Regions from separate parts of the Homo sapiens genome. Here region 1 is linked to region 2. The links are contacts of gene promoters, found by promoter capture Hi-C in blood cells and fetal thymus (Javierre and others, 2016). All regions are on one chromosome and are shown on one strand. Each heading gives the region's core, a stretch centred on a gene start or on the middle of the fragment in contact. The rest is flanking DNA. Distances are from core to core; before and after follow the strand shown.

What was found. Contacts are between HindIII fragments. The CHiCAGO score rates a contact against its expected background, and 5 or more counts as called.
Region 1: a fragment that was not itself captured here is called in contact with the fragment with the promoter of PDCL in region 2 in 1 of 17 cell types (M1 macrophages); the score reaches 5.6 in M1 macrophages.

What each region holds. Positions count from the first base shown.
Region 1 is chr9:122,395,162-122,400,192 of GRCh38, reverse strand. It overlaps PTGS1 (prostaglandin-endoperoxide synthase 1), which reads right to left. Exons shown (of 11, transcript NM_000962.4): 11 at 4,490-5,031. Among named protein-coding and RNA genes, the nearest start is that of PTGS1, 27 kb to the right of the region's middle. The HindIII fragment of the contact is 2,269 bases long and covers 2,647-4,915 here.
Region 2 is chr9:122,826,786-122,832,273 of GRCh38, reverse strand. PDCL (phosducin like) reads left to right here and starts at 3,686. Exons shown (of 4, transcript NM_005388.5): 1 at 3,686-3,803; 2 at 5,482-5,488. The coding sequence starts at 5,487. RefSeq lists an enhancer at 3,490-3,784. The HindIII fragment of the contact is 3,273 bases long and covers 1,978-5,250 here.

The sequences.
Region 1 (5,031 bases), core at 2,532-5,031, 430 kb after region 2:
ATAAATTCTAGGATTGTTTTTTCTGTTTATATGGAGAATGTCATTGGTATTTTGATAAGGATTGTATTGAATCTATAGACTGCTTTGGGTTGTATGGACATTTTAACAATGTTGATTCTTCCAATCTATGAATATGGAATATTTTTCTGTTTTTCGTGTGTCCTCTCCAATTTCTTTCATAGTGTTTTATTTTCCATTGTCAAGATCTTTCACTTCTTTGATTAATTTCCAGGTACTTAATTTTATTTGTAGCTATCGTAAATGGGATTACTATTTTCAGAATTTTCACTGTTTTCACATAGAAATGTTACTAATTCTTTCTTCTCTTTGATCAATTCTGCTATTAAGAGACTCTGATGCATTCTTTAGTAGTCAGTTGCATTTTTCAGCTTCAGAATTTCGGCTTGATTCTTTTTAATTATTTCAATATCTTGGTTAAATTGATCTGATAGGATTCTGAATTCCTTCTCTGTATTATCTTGTATTTCACTGAGTTTCCTCAAAATAGCTATTTCAAATTCTCTGTCTGAAAAGCCTAGAGGTGTAGATATATGACCTCTCTCTGAGAGATAGAGAAAGATCACATATTTCTATCTCTCTAGGATAAATCCCTGATGACTTATTTAGTTTGTTTAGTAAGGTCATGTTTTCTTGAGTGGTATTGATGCTTGTGGATGTTCACTGGTGTCTGGACATTGAAAAGTTAGATATTTGTGGTAGTCTTTGCAGTCTGGGCTTCTTGGGAAAGCCTTCTTGGGAAGGCTTTCCAGGTATTCGAAGGGACTTGGGTGTTGTCATCTAAGTTTTTGGTCACCATAGTCATATCAGCATTAGGAGGCACCCCAAGCCCAGTAATGCTGTGGCTCTTGCAGACTTGTAGAGGTACCACTTGATGGTCTTGGATAAGATCTGGAAGAATTGTCTGGATTACCAGGCAGATATTCTTGTTCTCTTCCCTTACTTTCTCCCAAACAGACAGAGTCTCTCTGTCTCTGTGCTGAGCTGCCTACAACTGGGGGAGGGGTGGCACAAGCACCCCTGTGGCCACCACCACTGGGACTGCACTAGGTCAGACCTGAAGCCAGCACAGCACTGTTTCTTACCCAAGGCCCATTATAACCACTACCTGGCTACCACCACCTTTGTTTACTCAAGGCTTTAGGGCTTTGCAGTTAGCAGGCAGTAAGTCAGCCAAGCTTGTGTCCTTCCCTTCAGGGCAGCGAGTTCCCCCAAGCAGGTCCGTAGATGCTGTTTGGGGACCAGAGCCTGGAGTTGAAAATCTTAAGAATCTGCCTTGTGTTCTATTCTACTGCAGCTGAGCTGCAGACAAAGCTACAAGTCAAGTCTTTCCCACTCATCCCTCCCCTTCCCACAGGCAGAGGAGTCTCTCCCCATGGCCAGCACCACCACAGGCCCATGGGGAGTACTGCCTGGCTACCACCAATGTTCACACAAGGCCAAGAGCTCTTCAGGAAGCTTGTGGTGAATGCTGCCAGACCTAGGACTCACGTATCAGGGCAGTGGTCTCCCCTCTGGCCCAGGTCAGGTCCAGAAATGCTGTGCGAGAGCCAAGGCCTGGAATCAGGGATACTGAGAGCCCACTTGGTGCTCTGCCCCACTGTGGCCGAGCTAGTACCTAAGCTGCAAGATGAAATCCCCTTTACTTTTCCCCCTGCTTTTCTCAAGTAGAAGGAGTCTCTCCCCATAGCCACCACAGCTGGGAATGTGCTGGGTCACACCTGAAGTCAGCACATCTCAGAATCTCACTCAAGGGCCATAGTGTGTACTACCTGGCTACTGCTGCTGATTATTCAGGGCCCAAGGGCACTTTAGTCAGCAGGTGGTGAATACTATCAGGACTAGATCCTTTCATTCAAGGCAACAGGTTCCCTTCTGCCTTATATGGCCCATATAAGCCCAGGATATGTCTAGAAATGTCATCTGGAAGTTAGGTCCTGGAATGGGTGCCTCAGGACTCTGCCCGGTGCCCTAAACTACTGTGGCTGAGCTGGTATCCAAGTGGCAAGACAAGTCCTCTTTACTCTTCTCTCCTCAAGCTGAAGGAAGGAGTCTCTTTGAGAGCTGTGAGTTGCACTGCCTAGGGTTGGGAGAGGGGTGGCACAAGCACTCCCTTGGCTATCGCAGCAGGTCACATGCCCCTCAAGTCCACTGGCTCCAAGCGCAGATCAGACTTTCCTAGGAGTTGTAATCCTTGTGGCCTATACTGCCTTTCAAGTTTATTTAGAACCCCAGAGCCCTTTAGCCCATTCAGCAACTGGGATGGATGCTTCCCCTCTGGCTAGGGCTGATCTAAATTCTCCCTCATGGGTATTAGCTGAGTTCTGCCTGGTGTTGCTTTCCAGTGTAACAAGGCAACACTGAGTTCTAACACAAAGTCCTACAACCACTACACTCTCCCTACACAGATTCTCTGTGCCATGTGGCTGCTGCCAGGGATCGGGGAGGGATGGCTCTGGCAATTCAAGACCATCCTTCCTACCCTCCTCAGTGCCTCTTTCAGTAATATAAAGTTAAAACCAGGTACTACAATCATTCACTTGAATTTTGGTTCTAATGAAGGTGCATTTTTTGTGTAGACAGTTGTTAAATTTGGTGTTCCTGTGGGGAAGACAATTGGTAGAAGCTTCTATTCTGCCTTCTTGCTCTGCCTCCTGCGTTTCTGACACTTTTTTTAACTCAAAAATTACTAAAAGAGTGGACTGTGTGTACCCAACAGTCTTTGTTTCTCTGTTGTTCTATAATTACATAACTTCACTTCTTAAGCTCTTTGCTTGCAACTATATCGAGCTGCTACCAGGTCAACAGTAAGGCCATTGTGATGGTCTTTGTAACATTCTAGGGATAGGGCCCACAGAGGCAGAACAGAACTAAGAAAATTCAGATTCACTGAAGCAGACTTTCCACGTTTCCCAGCCCCTTTGAACACCTTCCCTATGTATGAGGAATTTTCCTTATCATGGGTTCCTCCTTTTCAAGGCACAAACCAGAAAACTCACTTTCCATTCTTTCTTGTAGCTGCAGTACAGACACATGAGCTGGGCTCCACCAATCCGACACAAAATAAAGATAATTTTAATTCTAAGTAGAGAAAAGAGAGGAAGCAAGTATCACACAGATTCCATTTTCCAGCAAAAGTGGCTGTAGAAGCAGCCTGTTTTGGAAGGCAGCAGTAGTGGGGTTTGGGCAGCAAAGGTGTCATTTGAGATGCTGTGTCCATGGCAGTAGTAGAGGCATCTCCACTGGACAGTGGCCACCATTCCTAGGTGCAAACCCTCCAAGCCTAATTCCCTGGTCCTCCCAGTGGCTCCATGAGCTATGTAATGTCCTATAATAAATTCCTTCCTGCTTATACAGGCTAGAGAATGTTCTGTTGTTTGCATTGAGAGTCCTGAATGAATCACCCATTGTATTAGTCGGGGTTCTCCAGAGAATTAGAACCAACAGAATATATGTATATTATTATTATTATTATTATTATTATTATTATTTGATTTCCAATAATCAAATAATACAGTGGTTTGTGTATTATTTGATTATTGGAACTTGAATAATAATATACATATATTGGTTACACGTGTAGGATGTGCAGGTTTGTTACACAGGTAAACGTGTGCCATGGTAGTTTGCTGCACAGATCATCCCATCAGCTAGGTATTAACATTAGCTATTCTTCCTGATGGCCCACCTCCCACCCTCCGACAGGCCTCAGCATGTGTTGTTCCCCACCATATGTCCACGTATTCTCATCATTCATCTCCCACGCATAAGTGAGAACATGCAGTATTTGGTTTTCTGTTCTTGTATTATTAGAGAGATAGAAATATATATATATATATATATTCAGTCTTGAATATATAGAGAGAGAGTCAGTCTTGAATATATATATATAGTCAGTCTTGAATATATATATAGTCAGTCTTGAATATATATAGTCAGCCTTGAATATATATATAGTCAGTCTTGAATATATATATATAGTCTTGTATATGTATATATATATTCAGTCTTGTATATATATATATATATTCAGTCCTGTGTATATATATATATATATTCAGTCCTGTGTGTATATATATATATATATATATATATATTCAGTCGTGTGTGTGTATATATATATATATATATTCAGTTCTGTGTGTATATATATGTATAATATATATATTCAGTCCTGAATATATGTGCACATATCCTCCATATCCATGGGTTCCATATCTGTGAATTCAACCAAATGCAGATCAAAATATTCAAATACAATAAAAATAATACAAAGAAAAAATACAGTATAACAACTAGCATTTACACTGTATTAGGTATTATAAGTAATCTAGAGATGATTGAAGTTATACAGGAGATTGCACATAGGTTATATGCAAATACTATACCACTTCATATAAAGGACTTGAGGAACCACAGATTTTGGTATCTGTAGAGATCCTGAAACAAATCCCCCACAAATACCAAAGGATGGCTGTATATAGCTTTATTTTTAGAAATTAATTCACACAATTGTTGGGGTTGGCAAACTTCAAATCCATAGGGCAGACTAGCAGGCTGGAAACTCAGGCAGGAGTCGATGGCTATAGTCTTGAGGCAAAGTTTCTTCTTTTCCAGGAAACTGCAGTGTTTGTTCTTGAGGCCTTTCAACTAATCAGGTGCAGCTCACCCAAATTATTTAAGTAATCTCTTTCACTTAAAGTCAACTGATTGTAGATGTTAATCACATCTACAAAATACCTTCACAGCCACACCTAGATTACTGTTTGATTAAATAACTGTGTGCTATAGCCCAACCAAACTGACAAATAAAACCAACCATCACATCCACCAAATCAAAACTCCAGGAACAAATGTTTAAATTACAAGCATTAAGATTCTTCACTCTGAAGAAGCTTTCTTGGTGCATTTAGCCTGTTTCCCTTTGCAAAACTTTCATGTGCAGTTGTCAATACTAAGCAAAGTCTACCTAATCTAGGCACTTGCATTTAAGAGAGGAATACCTCTGGAACC
Region 2 (5,488 bases), core at 2,437-4,936:
AGACAAGACAGATGGGCAAGCTGTTTATCTCAAACAGTCCTCATATGGTTTGGTGTCATTCAAAATCATCTCTGGACCTTTAATTCTTATAGAAAAAATAAAGTAACAGGACAAATTTGTTCTAAATTTACAAAAATATTGGTAGAAAAAATCTAACATGAGAAACTCATTGTAAGACCAAATCTTGTTTTGCCTCTGTTATGATTTGGAAAAACTGTAAGAGTGGATCAAGTCTTGGAACTCATGCTTCAAGGAATTTAATCATTTATTTTATTTATTTATCTAGCTATTTATTTATTTATTTTTTTGTGGAGATGGAGTCTCATTCTGTCTCCCAGGCTGGAGTGCAGTGGCATGATCTCAGCTCACTGCAACCTCCTTCTACCGGGTTCAGGTGATTCTCCTGCCTCAGCCTCCCAAGTAGCTGGGATTACAGTAGGCATGCTCCACTCAGCCCGGCTAATTTTTGTATCTTTAGTAGAGATGGGGTTTCACCATGTCGGCCAGGCTGGTCTTGAACTCCTGGCCTAAAATGATCTGCCTGCCTCAGCCTCCCAAAATGGTGGGATTACAGGCATAAGCCATCGTGCCCGGCCTATTTAATCACTTATATATGAATTTCATTCAGTTACTTCAAAATTTTAAATATTTTTAAAAATAGCCTATAAATCTGGTTGGATCAAGGTTTCCCTTGCTTAAAGATAAATGCTTTAGCCGTCACAAGACAGCTCATGGGTTGTTTTCCCCACTAGGGAATACCTTTAATATACTCTACTGATAAACAGCCCAACAAAAACCTTACAGTAGCGGTAAAATACCTTTAAAACTATAAATTACATACAGTATGCTCATTAAACAGAAACTTCATTATCCACATCATTCCACATTTCTTTTTTTTTTTTTTGAGACGGAGTCTCACTCTGTTGCCAGGCTGGAGTACAGTGGCATAATCTCAGCTCACTGCAACCTCCACCTCCTGGGTTCAAGCGATTCTCCTGCCTTAGCCTCCCCAGTAGCTGAGACTACAGGCGTGCGCCACCATGCCCAGCTAATTTTTGTATTTTTAGTAGAGACGGGGTTTCACCATATTGGCCAGGATGGTCTTGATCTCTTGACCTCGTGATCTGCCCACCTCGGCCTCCCAAAGTGCTGGGATTACAGGTGTGAGCCACCATGCCTGGCCCATTCCACATTTCTAACAGGAAAAATGAGTGGTTCTGTTGGATATTATTAGATAGCTAACTCATGTACACATATTCCTGACAGATGCAAGCTACATTCCCAACAAAGACATCACTATATCTATACAACCAGGAGACTGAATATATTAAAAGGTCTGAATTTGAGACCAACGTGGGCAACATAGCAAGACCCCATTTCTACTTTTTTTAAAAAAGGTTGAATATGGCCGGGCGCGGTGGCTCACGCCTGTAATCCCAGCACTTTGGGAGGCCGAGGCGGGTGTATCACGAGGTCAGGAGATCGAGACCATCCTGGCTAACACGGTGAAACCCCGTCTCTACTAAAAAATACAAAAATTAGCCGGGCGTGGTGGCGGGAGCCTGTAACCTGGGAGGCGGAGATTGCAGTGAGCCGAGAATTGCGCCACTGCACTCCAGCCTTGGCAACAGAGTAAGACTCCGTCTTAAATAAATAAATAAATAAATAAACCAGTGTCGGGCAGTTCTTTATAGCAGTATGAACTGCCTGACACTGGGTTATTTATTTACAGCAGTATGAAAACGGACTTATTAATACAGTATTCTTGAATGGGTGTGTGTTTGTGTGTGGTATTTTTTGACTCCTCTGAGGGCCTCAGCAAACAGCCTCTCTGAAAACAGGCAGGTACAGAAATTTGCAGACAATTTCAGGTGGTCCTAGAACCACAAATTAAGATCCCCTACCCCAAATTAAGAGCCCTATTTTAAACAGTGTATCTTTCTAGAATATTTTCTATGATTCAATTTACCCAAAGCTTTCTATGAGCAACTTCACGGTTGTGTATTGGATACTTCAACAAGGGCTCAGAATTTGAAATCATTTTAGGTTTTAAAAAAGTTGCAAAAACAGACGACAAAGTATGCCTGAGGAAAAAGAAAAAAAAGTTGCAAAATATCATAGTATGGCTTTACCCTGGAAGAAGAAAACAAAGTTGCAAAAATAGGATAGTGCTTCCCTAGATTCTTCATCTAATAGAATCTCCAAAAGTTCACATCTTACATAGTATAATTATTAAAACTATTGATACAATACTACTAATATGAATTAATAGGCCTTATTCAAATTTCGTCAGTTGTCCCATTCATGTCCTTTTTATTTTTCTTTTTTGAGACGGAGTCTCAGTCTTGACCCCCAAGCTGGAGTGCAGTGGTGCGATCTCAGCTGTCTGCAACCTCCGCCTCCCGGGTTCAAGCGATTCTCCTGCCTCAGCCTCCGAGTAGCTGGGATTACAAGTGTGCACCACCATGCCCGGCTAATTTTTGTATTTTTAGTAAAGACGGGGTTTCGCCATGTTGGCCAGGCTGGTCTCGAACTCCTGACCTCAGGTGATCTGCCCGCCTCGGCCTCCCAAAGTGCTGGGATTACAGGAGTGAACCACCGCACCCGGCCCCATGTCCTTTTTCTATACCAGGAGCCAATTCCGGATTTCACATTACATTCCTGCTCTGTCACCCAGGCTGGCCTCCAAGTCCTGGGCTGAGCGATCCTCCCGCCTCAGCCTCCTGCGTAGCTGGGACTACAGGCGCGCGCCACCACTCCTGGCTGCCGCTTCTTTAAAATGGTGAAACCCCGTCTCTACTAAAAATAGAAAAAATTAGCCGGGTCTGCTGGCGGACGCCTGTAATCCCAGCTACTCTGGAGGCTGAGGCAGGAGAATCTCTTGAACCCGGGAGGCGGAGGTTGCAGTGAGCCGAGATCGCGTCACTGCACTCCAGCCTGGGCAAGAAGAGCGAAACTCCGTCAAAAAAATATATATATATATTTTAATCTATGCCCTGTACTTGAGGGATTTGTGCTCTCGGGCAAATTACCGAACGTCTCTGAGTCACTTTTCCGTCTAATAGACGTGATGCGATGAAGAACCAATAAAAAACACACTTTGAATGGCTTCGGAAACTTCGAAGGGAAGTGAATACATTTTTCTTTTCTTTCTTTCTTTTTTTTTGAGACAGTCTCGCTCTGTCGCCCAGGCTGGGGTGCAGTGGCGCGATCTCGGCCCACTTCAACTTCTGCCTCCTGGGTTTAAGCGATTCTCCTGCCTCAGCCTCCCGAGTAGCTTGGATTACAGGCGTCGGCCACCAGGCCCGGCTAATTTCTGTATTTTTAGTAGAGACGGGTTTTCAACGTGTTGGCCAGGCTGGTCTTGAACTCATGACCTTAAGTGATCCGCCCGCCTCGGCCTCCTAAAGTGCTGGCATTACAGGCGTGAGCCACCGCGCCCGGCCTGTGAATACATTTTTCTTATTGCTTGACGCTGGGTCATACAATTCACTTTTTTGTTGTGCAGATTAAAACCAAAACAAAGCAATTAGGAGAGCGTTGTTGTCGAGGTGTTTTGTTCCAAGGTAGGACCCGTAGCTTCTCCCCTGCCCCTCAGCTGGGAGTAGCGGCTTCTGATTGGACAATGCGCGTCCGCCACGACGCAGGAAGGCCGCCTCATTGGTCCGCGCTGTCGGGCTTCGGCGGCTTTTCTCTTTAGCGCTCAGGGCGCTGACCCACTGCTCTTCCTCTTAAGAAAGTGCTCCATTCCTTCCGGCGCCCGGAGCTGCTGGCCCAAAGGGATCCGGAGCGAGCTAGGGCAGGTAACTGCATTGGGGTCCACCGGGAAGCGGCAGCAGCTGCGGACTACGGGAGGGAGTGGGGTTGGCGAGCTTGGGTAAAACTGCCCCTTCTTCGCTCTGTCTCGACCCCCAAGTTCTCCGCGTCTTCCTCGTCCCCTTTCCTCCTCTGGCCCCACCTCCCCCGGGCCCTTCCAGCCTTCCCCCAAAAGCTCCACACACCCCTCTGCTTCCCGTCCGGGGGCCCCGCCTCCTCTGCTCGCGTCTCCAGGGGGCCCGCCCTCGTCTCCTCCCCGCAGCGGTCCCTCCTTTAGGAGCGCAACTCCTTCCCTCCCCTCCGCCGCTGCTGTGTCCCCCGCTTGGCCCATTCCTGGGCCTTAAGTTTGGTTTTGTTCCTTCTTGGCACCTCCACCTGTCTCTCCATGATCCCTGTCTCCTTTGCATCTGACTGCTGGAGTCCTCCGATTCTCCCGTTGACCCAGGCTGCGAGTTTAGCAAATTGTGCAGCGGCATTGTGCTGGGCTTTGGGGATAGAGGTAGTGACTAGAGGTCCCTACGTTCAAGAACTCCTTGCCCGGTGGGAGAGAGTCACTTTGTAAATGGAGTATGATAGGCCCGGTGATAAGTCTTTAAGGCAGCCGCATTCCTGCTGAATTCTCAAGCAGGCCTCTGGGGGCTAAGCTGCATCTTTTCATCAGAATGCCCTTGGCTACTTCTGATGCAGAAGCCTGGTCCTTTATATTTTTAGTTTTTATTTTTTTTTGAAACAGAGTCTCGCTCTGTCTCCCAGGCTGGAGTGCAGTGGCGTGATCTTGGCTCACTGCAACCTCCGCCTCCCGGATTCAAGAGATTCTCGTGCCTCAGCCTCCTGAGTAGCTGGGAAAACAGACACCCGCCACCACACCTGGCTAATTTTTGTTTGTTTGTTTGTTTGCTTTTACTAGTAGAGACAAGAGTTTCGCCATGTTAGCCAGGCTGGTCTCGAATACCTGGTCTCAAGTGATCCTCCCTCCTCGGCCTCCCTAAGTGCTGGGATTACCTGCGCGAGCCCGGCCATCATAGTCCTTTAAACCCTTGGGAGTTATTAAAATCTTTGTATGGGCCCTTCTTTTAAACTGTCAGAATAGGTAGCGTTTCAGAGACCATCCATCCAAGCCCTCAGGGTGTTGTCTGGGAAGTTGAAGGCTGGTGACAGAGAGTGATTGCCTAGACAAATAGTGACTCAGCATTGTACTCTTGATGCCTCTTTTTGGGGTTTTTCCTGAGGATACTTAAACAATTTTTCAATTAGGCAGCAGTCTTAGCTGGTGGGAAAACTAAAAGCACAGATAAAACCACTAGTCAGTAGATTCCTCCAAGCCAGTGCAGGTGGCTTGTACACTTAACTCAGACTAGAGTAATTTATACCTCAGGCTCTTGGAGTCAGGAATCCCTGGGGTCTGGTCCCAGCTCCGTCATTCGCTGTTAAGCTTGGTGAAGACTCTTCCTTTATCTGAGCTTCAGTTTTACCTTCTGTTAAAGAGTGTGATAAGCCCTAACACACAGGGTAACGGTAGGGATTTGTTAAGATTTTGGTTATGAAAATAATCACTTTAGTGTCCTGGAAATTGTAGGATCTCAGCACAGGCGAGCCCCCTATGCTTCAGATTCATGTCTGTCTGGCTCAAATCAGCAAAGAACCTGATATGCTTTCTTTTTCCAGACACCAT